Regions from separate parts of the Homo sapiens genome. Here region 2 is linked to region 1. The links are contacts of gene promoters, found by promoter capture Hi-C in human tissues and cell types (Jung and others, 2019). All regions are on one chromosome and are shown on one strand. The core of a region is centred on a gene start or on the middle of the fragment in contact, and the rest is flanking DNA. Distances in the headings are between cores, read along the strand shown. Region 1 holds the start of TDRD9 (tudor domain containing 9). Region 2 overlaps TDRD9 (tudor domain containing 9).

Evidence for each region. The method cuts DNA at HindIII sites, captures the fragments that hold promoters and counts their contacts. A contact is called where the count stands out against the background at its distance.
Region 2: a contact is called between a fragment that was not itself captured here and the fragment with the promoter of TDRD9 in region 1, in 5 of the 25 tissues and cell types used here (H1 embryonic stem cells, heart left ventricle, lymphoblastoid cells and 2 more).

The regions. Positions count from the first base shown.
Region 1 is chr14:103,926,750-103,931,012 of GRCh38, forward strand. TDRD9 (tudor domain containing 9) reads left to right here and starts at 1,707. Exons shown (of 36, transcript NM_153046.3): 1 at 1,707-1,975. The coding sequence starts at 1,761. The HindIII fragment of the contact is 10,851 bases long and covers 1-4,263 here.
Region 2 is chr14:103,989,436-103,993,700 of GRCh38, forward strand. It overlaps TDRD9 (tudor domain containing 9), which reads left to right. Exons shown (of 36, transcript NM_153046.3): 9 at 1,725-1,789. Among named protein-coding and RNA genes, the nearest start is that of RD3L, 49 kb to the left of the region's middle. The HindIII fragment of the contact is 6,052 bases long and covers 1-4,265 here.

The DNA of each region.
Region 1 (4,263 bases), core at 457-2,956:
CCTAGCCTCCACATACAGTGTGAAGTTACAATATTTTCCAATCAATGCTGAATGACATACCATGAGTCTCAATTACTTTATGATTACCTTTTTTCTTATTTTTTGAAAAACATGACTGGGCATGGTGGTTCATGCTTGTAGTCTCAACACTTTGGGAGGCCAAGGGCTCCCAAACAGATTGCTTGAGCCCAGGAGCTTGAGACTGGCCTGGGCAACACAGCGAAACCCCTGTCTGTACTAAAAATATAAAAAATTAGCCGGTGTGGTGGTGGCGTGAGCCTGTAGTTCCAGCTATGCAGGAGGTTGTGGTGGGAGCATCACCTGAGCCCCCGAAGTTGAGGCTGCAGTGAGCCCTGATTGCAGCACGGCACTCCAGCCTCAGCGACAGGAGTGAGACCCTGCCTCAAAAGAAAAAAGAAAAGCAAGTTATTTCTTCCTGGCAAAGTGTGTTGAGGCACTTTTGGGAACCTGTCGTATTTGGCAGAGTCCTAATATGAGGTCTAGAGCTCATTATGCCAGGATTTGGAGCCAGAACTCCTGGCTTAGTATGATTATGGGTTCAATTTTTGAGACACCAATAGCTCAACCTACCTGCCTGATTTCTGTCTACAGTGTTTTCAAACCGCCCTCTTATTTGCCACTGCTTGGGCTTTACACTGCTGATTAGAGCCATGCTCTCGATACCGTCTCTGTATTTGTTCACATGGCTCTTTCCTGAGAGCCCACATGGGCCAGATAGATCCTGCCCTGGCCAGTGAGGGGGACACACCCCAGGCAGGTGGCCATGTCTCTCTTCTGACCCTCCCTTCCCTTGCACACGTGGCTGCCTTCCCGTGCATCCTTTGTTGATTTCTTCCCGCGGCTCCTTCTTTTGGGGAGTTTGCTAGGGCTCTGTTCTCCACCCTCACTCTTCTAGAGCTCGGCCGGGACCACCTCAGCCTGTATCTTTGGTCCATGTGATCGCCTGGACCTCCTGTCCGCACCTGTTTGTGTCCAGCTGTGAGTCTGACACCGCCGCCTGAGACACCGGTTTAGGAAGGAAGATGAATTCAGTTATGATCCGGCTGCAAAGAACTTCTCCCAGATCCTCACCTCAGCCATCAGGGCCGCCTGCCCTCCCCTATAACCCTGGGTGGTCCTCCGTCTGGCGCATTCCCCCGTATCCTGCAGGGGTCTGCCTGGCGTTACTTTCTCCGAGACCTTCCTGACCTTCTTCTTGCCCCTCTCCCCCCATATTAGGTGCAAGGATGTCCTGGTACGTCTGACCCACGAACGCAAATCCCTTCTCTGGTTTGCCTTCCATCTCCTCACCCTGAGGTGCTCAAGAAACGTATGTAGGGTCCCGGTCCGCTCAAAGCGCACAAACCTCCGAGGCAGCAGCCTCTAAATAGAGAGGCCAGGGAGTGACCGGAGGGCATTTTCTTGTACACACAGGGGTTGCCACGGAACTCCCGTGAAACAGACTCCCGGGCCAGCCGCGGCGCTCAAGCTTCCCCTGAGGTCCTAGAAAGGCTCACCCTGGGCTCGCTCGGGGCGGCGGCTCCCGGCAGGCCTAGCGCGGCGGGGCGGGGCCGGCGGCACGAGGACCAGGCAGCGCGGGCAGCACGCGCCCGGGCCGGAGCCCGCCCACAAGGGCGCGCGGCGCGTTCTGATTGGAAGGCCTCGAGCGGGGGCGGGGCTTCCAGGGTGCGCTTCCGCCGTCGCCTGTTCCCGCCGCGGAGACCCGGCAGTTGGGGGATGCCGACGCCTGGGCCTTGAGGATGCTGCGGAAGCTCACCATCGAGCAGATCAACGACTGGTTCACCATCGGCAAGACGGTGACCAATGTGGAGCTGCTGGGCGCGCCGCCCGCCTTCCCGGCAGGGGCGGCCAGGGAGGAGGTGCAGCGCCAGGACGTGGCCCCCGGCGCTGGTCCCGCGGCCCAGGCTCCGGCTCTGGCCCAAGCTCCGGCCCGGCCGGCCGCTGCGTTCGAAAGGTAGGACGCGGGCGGGGCGGAGGCGGCTGGAGGGCGGCCGGGCGAGGCCTGGCGACGAGGGCACGGGCCATCCAGATCCTTCTCGCGAGCCCGTGCCCTCTCGCGGGGCTCCAGGGACCCCTGACCGTCCAGGGCGAGTGGTCACTACACAACCCGACGCGCGGCCCAGAGCGGTGCCTGTAAGGAAGCTGAGCTAGAGGTTTTTTTTTTTTTTTTTTTTTCAGTTCTTAATGTTTAACAGACTAGTTTTTGAGGCACTCAGGTTTTCAGGATAACGGAGCGGAGGGCAGAGGTCCCATAGGCCCCTTCCCTCCCAGAGTTTCCCCTGTGAGCATCTGCGTAAGGTGTGGGTATTTGTGACAGTCGGCGAACCTGCATCGCTGCGTCTTCGTCACCCGGAGGCCATCGTTACAGGAGGGTTCACGCCTCGTACTGGACGTTCTGTGGGTTTGGACAAACGCCTAACGTCACGCATTACAGAGTTCACTGACCTACAGATCTTCTCGGCCCCACTGTTCCTGCCTCCCTTTCCCTACACCACGTGGAAACCACTGATTTTTTTACTGTCTCCATAATTTTGCTTTTCCATACTGTCATCTAGTTGGAATCACACAGTATGTGTAGCCTTTTTGATGGGTTTCTGTCACTTAGTATTAGTATGCATTTGGGGGTTCCTCCATGCCTTTCCATGGTTTGATAGCTTCTTTCCTTTTAGCACTGATTAATATTCCACTGTCTGGATGTACCACAGTTTATCTCCATTCACCTACTGAAGGAGAGCTTGGTTGCTTCCAAGTTCTCCCCCCACCCCCCGAGATGGAGTCTCACTTTGTTACCCAGGCTGGAGTGGAGTGGCGCCATCTCGCCTCACTGCAATCTCCCCCTCCTAGGTTCAAGCGATTCTCCTGCCTCAGCCTCCCGAGTAGCTGAGGCTACAGGCATATGCCACCACGCCTGGCTAATTTTTGTATTTTTAATAGAGACAGGGTTTCACCATGTTGGCCAGGCTAGTCTAGAACTCCTGACCTCAGGTGATCTGCCCACCTCAGCCTCCCAAAGTGCTGGGATTACAGGCGTGAGCCACTGCGCCCGGCCTGCTTCCAAGTTTTGGCAAGGTTTTTGTGTGGACATAAGTTTTCAACTCATTGGGTAAATACCAAGGAGTGCAAATGCTGAATCTTTGTTAAGTTTCACAGACTCCCTCCTCATCTCACTATTCTTTAAGTAGCTACCATCAGTTACTCTGTTCACTTGATTTGGGTGGAAATAAAAAGCAAGAGTATATCCTCTGTTTTTAGAGGAAAGACGTAGATTTGGTGAGTAGAAACACCTGCTCCCTCTTCTCGCTCTTTAAAAAGGCCCTGGGAGAAGTACTTCCAGCTTGGAGTATCTCCGTCACTCTTGCTCAGTCCCCAAGTCCAGCACGCTTTACAGTTGAGAAGGTGGTTTTGTTTTTCTTTTTCTTGGTTTTTTTTTTTTGAGACATAGTTTCGCTCTTGTTGCCCAGGCTGGAGTGCAGTGGCGCAATGTTGGCTCACCACAAACCTCCGCCTCCTGGGTTCAAGCGATTCTCCTGCCTTGGCCTCCCGAGTAGCTGGGATTACTGGCGTGTGCCACCACGCCCAGCTTATTTTGTATTTTTAGTAGAGACAGCATTTCACCTTGTTGGCCAGGTCGGTCTGACCTTGTGGTCCACCCATGTCGGCCTCCCAAAGTGCTGGGATTCCAGGTGTGAGTCACCGTGCCTGGCTTTATTTTTCTTTTTTAAAGTTACTCTTGTTTGTTAGTCTTGTCTGATTTGATGGATAGGCCCAGACTCTGGGTCAAGCTTTCGTGGGTTGCTTCAAGCCTTTGTAGAGTTCTTTCAAGTACACCTTTGGGATCTTTGGTAAATTTGGTTCTTAGAGGCATAGGGGGGACCGAGAGACCCCTTGTGCAACTTTGGAGTTGCTGTTTGTATGTTTGCACACTTTACTTCCTTGAGCTACTCTGGTAAATGATCCTGTGGGCCGCCTCCCCTACTTAATGGTCCATCACTTACTCCTTAGTTTTAACGGTGTGAACAGCATTGCTATTAAATAACCCATTGTAATATTGGAAGTAAATTATTATTGACCTTGTCAGAAAGTATAGATTTAAGTGCCATTTTAAGCACTAAGGACAAGTTTTTAAGATTTCTAGTCCTTCATGGACTGAGACTTTTATAAAATCAATAAAAATGAATTTTCAGAGCAATGAAATGAAAAAAGACAACATACTAATCGCAGTTAAAAAATTATTAGATTCAA
Region 2 (4,265 bases), core at 144-2,643, 62 kb after region 1:
ACTAAACTGAGCTCCTTGGCAGGAGGCCATGCTGTGCAGGAAATAATGGAAGCGAGAAAGGCATCTTTAGGTCCATGGATGGGGGTATGACAGGAGCTTTAGGTGCAGAGAAGGCAGACCTGAATCCAGAATAGGATCTGTATCTATTTCCATGAGGGCAAATCAGTATCTTTTTCATGATGGAATCAACCTGTCATCAGCTGGCTGGGCTGGTCCCCCAGGGAATGGTGCCATATTTGGGACTTGGCACTGGCCCTTGCTGTTGTGTGGTTGGCATCCAGCAGTGGTAGCAGCCGGATGAGTCTCATCTCAGGAAAGTGCATGGTGTTGAGTTTGTGTGTAAGCCTTCATCCCTGCTACCTGTCCACTCTGTGCGTTTTCCAACCCTGGAGGGACTGGAGAAGGAGGCTGGGTCACGTCCACAGGCAGGGCCTCTTGCCCGTCTGGTGACTGAAAGCCTTCTCCACTGTGGCTGCCTTATGGGCATTTCTTGGTACCTCTCCATCAGATCTCCTTATTATCAGTCTTGCCATTTCCACATCCCTGACCAGCTGACCAAGCTATTAGCCTCTGCCTATTGATTGGGGTGAACCCAACCTCATGGCCATGTCTCCTTCCACCCAAAGCGGTACCACCAGATGGACGGCCTCACCTCTGCTAACTGGGAAGAGCTCCCTTCCCCACTCACTGTGTGTGAGCCTCTCCTCTGGGTGGGGCTGTGATGCAGCAGATGTTCGCCCCTGGTTGTTGCCAGCATCCCATGCAGGCCCATCTACAAACCAAGGCTGTGTTTTTCATGGTAGTGGCTGCCGCCTGAGGTCATAGGTGTGGCTCACCCTCATAGGGAGAGATGGAGGAGCAGCAGGAGCAGTGACCATGGATGCTGAGCTGCCTGTGCTGCAGTGACTGGTTTACCCCTCACACCCCTTTCTCCTTTGTAGTGACTGTTCCCAGGCATTGCCTGGATTGCCACTGCATGGCTTTTCCATGGCTCCCTCCTCACCTCCCATTACTTCCCCAGAGAGGCCCTTCCCAGCCAGCCCTCCTGAGAGCACTCCATACATGCACCTCCCTTAGCACTGCTTACTGTGTTTCCCTGTGTGTCTCTTTAGGTCTTATTGCTAAATTGAAGGTGCCTTGTCTGTTTTCTTGTTTCCTGTCTGTCTCTCCAGTTAGAATGTAAGCTCCAAAGAGCAAGGAGCTTGTCTTCTTGTTACTGCTGTATCTTACACAGAGGAGGGCCTGGCATGTAGGAAGGGCTCACAGGTTCATGGAAGAATGAAAGTTCTAAATTCACACAAAAGTAAATATATTGACAATAGCAAGGAGGCAAGTAGATGATTTGAGATTTTGGTCTGTACAAATCCTTTCTAATAGTTTGGACTCATGAACATTTAAATTTTGCTTGTAGTTATTTTAAATGTTTTTTACTTTGAAGTTCTTGATTACAATAACTAAATTTCAAGGAAAACTTCTGCAGATAGTAAGTTTTGATAGGAGAAAGTATTGGGAGTCAAAAGGCTTAAGTCCCCTGAATGACCATGGGGCCTTGGATGTTTTCTCATCTTTTTGGGCTTCGTGTTTTCTTATGTAAAATAAGGAACATTACATTGGATGACCTGTAAGAGCCTTTCAGGATTAAAAGCCTGTAATATTAGGATTTTAGAGAAGCAATAGCTGTTATTAGCCTTCATTAATATTTGTGCACATCACATTTTTAACAGGAACAAGGCTTGGTCGGGGGCCCAGTTTGTGTTGGAGCGAAGCAGTGTGTTGGTGTTTTTGCCAGGTAAGAACATCATAATTTTGTGACTTGGAATCATAATACTCTGGAGAGAGGCTAAGTTTGTGCCTAACACAGATTATGAAAGATGGTATTCTCCATAGGACTTTATTCTTTTTACACTTTGAGTATGTGAACAAATGTAACTTTCAGTTTGGCTTTTTATTGTAACCCTTGCATTTCTTTTTTTTTTCCTTTTCCTTTTCCTTTTTCTAGATGGAGTCTTGCTCTGTTGCTAGGCTGGAGTGCAGTGGCACGATCTTGGCTCACTGCAACCTCTGCCTCCCCGGTTCCAGTGATTCTCCTGCCTCAGCTTCCCGAGTAGCTGGGACTACAGGTGCACGCCACCACGCCCGGCTTATTTTTGTATTTTTAGTAGAGATGAGCTTTCACCATGTTGGCCAGGATGGTCTCGATCTCTTGACCTTGTGATCTGCCCGCTGTGGCCTCCCAAAGTGCTGGAATTACAGATGTGAGCCACTGTGCCCGGCCAACCCTTGTATTTCTAAAAAAGATTTCTTATTAATAATTAAGAGTTCAATTTTTTTTTTTTTTTGGAGACAGAGTCTCACTCTGTTGCCCAGGCAGGGGTACAGTGGCAAAATCTTAGCTCACTGCAACCTCTGCCTCCTGGGTTCAAGTGATTCTCCTGCCTAAGCCTCCGAAGTAGCTGGGATTACAGACACGCGCCACCATGCTTGTCTAGAGTTCAGCTTTTTGAAGGCAGTTTTGCCACCTTCGAAATTTCCAGTAAAATATTTGGCTTTGTGAAATTTGCATTTTACATATGTCGTTATAAATGTGAGGTAACTGTCATCAGTTTGCATTGAAAGCTTATTTAGTAATAGTAAAACACACTGTTATTATAACACCGTGAGAATCATCAGGGTAATCCTTGAGTTCCCTTCTCAGTGTTTGAGAAAACAGACTTTTAAAATACCTTTCTGAAAAGATGAATTTATGTTAAATTGTACTTTTTCAAAATTACTTGATGTTTAATTCAAGTGGTATAGCTTGATGAAACATTATGACAATAATTCAAATATTTTCTGTTGTAATATATAGAGCATAAACAGATTTGTTCTTAAAATAATGGAGAATGAAAAACATGCAATGAAAGTAGCTTACTTAATTTTGGAATGCAACATATGAGTTTCAAACTTTTGTCATGTTTTGCTTAGCTGATAAGGATTTGTTTACATGCAGGGAACAACCATGAGCTGACAGTGGGGTGGTGTTGCATGTGCCTTGGTGAATATTTATCAGATGACTTCTGTGTGCATCATATTGTATTAAGGGGAAAACATCACCCAAGTAGAGCCATGTTGATACTGGCTTAAGAACACCTAACATGGGCCGGGCACAGTGCTCACGCCTGGAATCCCAGCACTTTGGGAGGCCGAGGCTTAAGAACACCTAACACGGACGGGCGTGGGGGCTCATGCCTGGAATCCCAGCACTTTGGGAGGCTGAGGTGGGTGGATCACGAGGTCAGGAGATCGAGACCATCCTGGCTAACATGGTGAAACCTCATCTTTACTGAAAATACAAAAAAAATTAGCCGGGCATGGTGGCGGGCACCTGTGGTCCCAGCTATTCGGAAGGCTGAGGCAGGAGAATGGCATGAACCTGGGAGGCGGAGCTTGCAGTGAGCCGAGATCACGCCACTGCACTCCAGCCTGGGAGAAAGAGCGAGACTCCATCTCAAAAAAAAAAAAAAAAAAAAAGAATACCTAACATGAGATAAATACTCTATTTTATTTATTTTTTAAGAAAGGGTCTTGCTGTGTTCCCCAGGCTGGAGTACAGTGGTGTGACCCCGATCACTGCAGCCTCTACCTTCTGGGCTGAAGTGATATTTCCACCTCAGCCTCCCAAGTAGCTGGGACTGCAGGCATGCACCCCCATGCCTGGCCAAATTTTTTTTTTTTTGGTATCTTTTTGTGGAGACGGTTTAACTAGCTTGCACAGGCTAGTCTCGAACTGCTAGGCTCAAGTGATCTCCATGAAGTGATCCACCTGCCTCAGCCTCCCAAAGTGTTGGGATTGCAGGTGTGAGCCACTGCTCCTGGCTGGTAAATACTTTTTACCTGCTAAACATTGCCTGAAGAAAATATTTATAAGTGATATTTTACATTTAGGGTTACTGTCCTTTTAATATGTTCATGTGAATTCAAGTTTGATAGATGTTTATGTGTCAATTGATCTTTTGTGAACAGTTCTATAGTAGTTTTCCAGGACTGCTGTAACAAAGTGCCACAAGCTAAATGCCTTAAAAGAACAGTCATTTATTCTCTCCCTGTTTTGGAGGCTAGATGTTCAAAATCGAGTTGTCAGCAGGGCCATGCTCTTTCTGAGCCTCTTCCTCTTTCCAGCTCCTGGTAGTGGCCGTCAGTCCCTAGTGCTCCTTGACCTGTGGCTACATCACTCCTGTCTCTGTTGTCACATGGCATTCTCTGTTTGTGCCTCTTCCCTTCTTGTA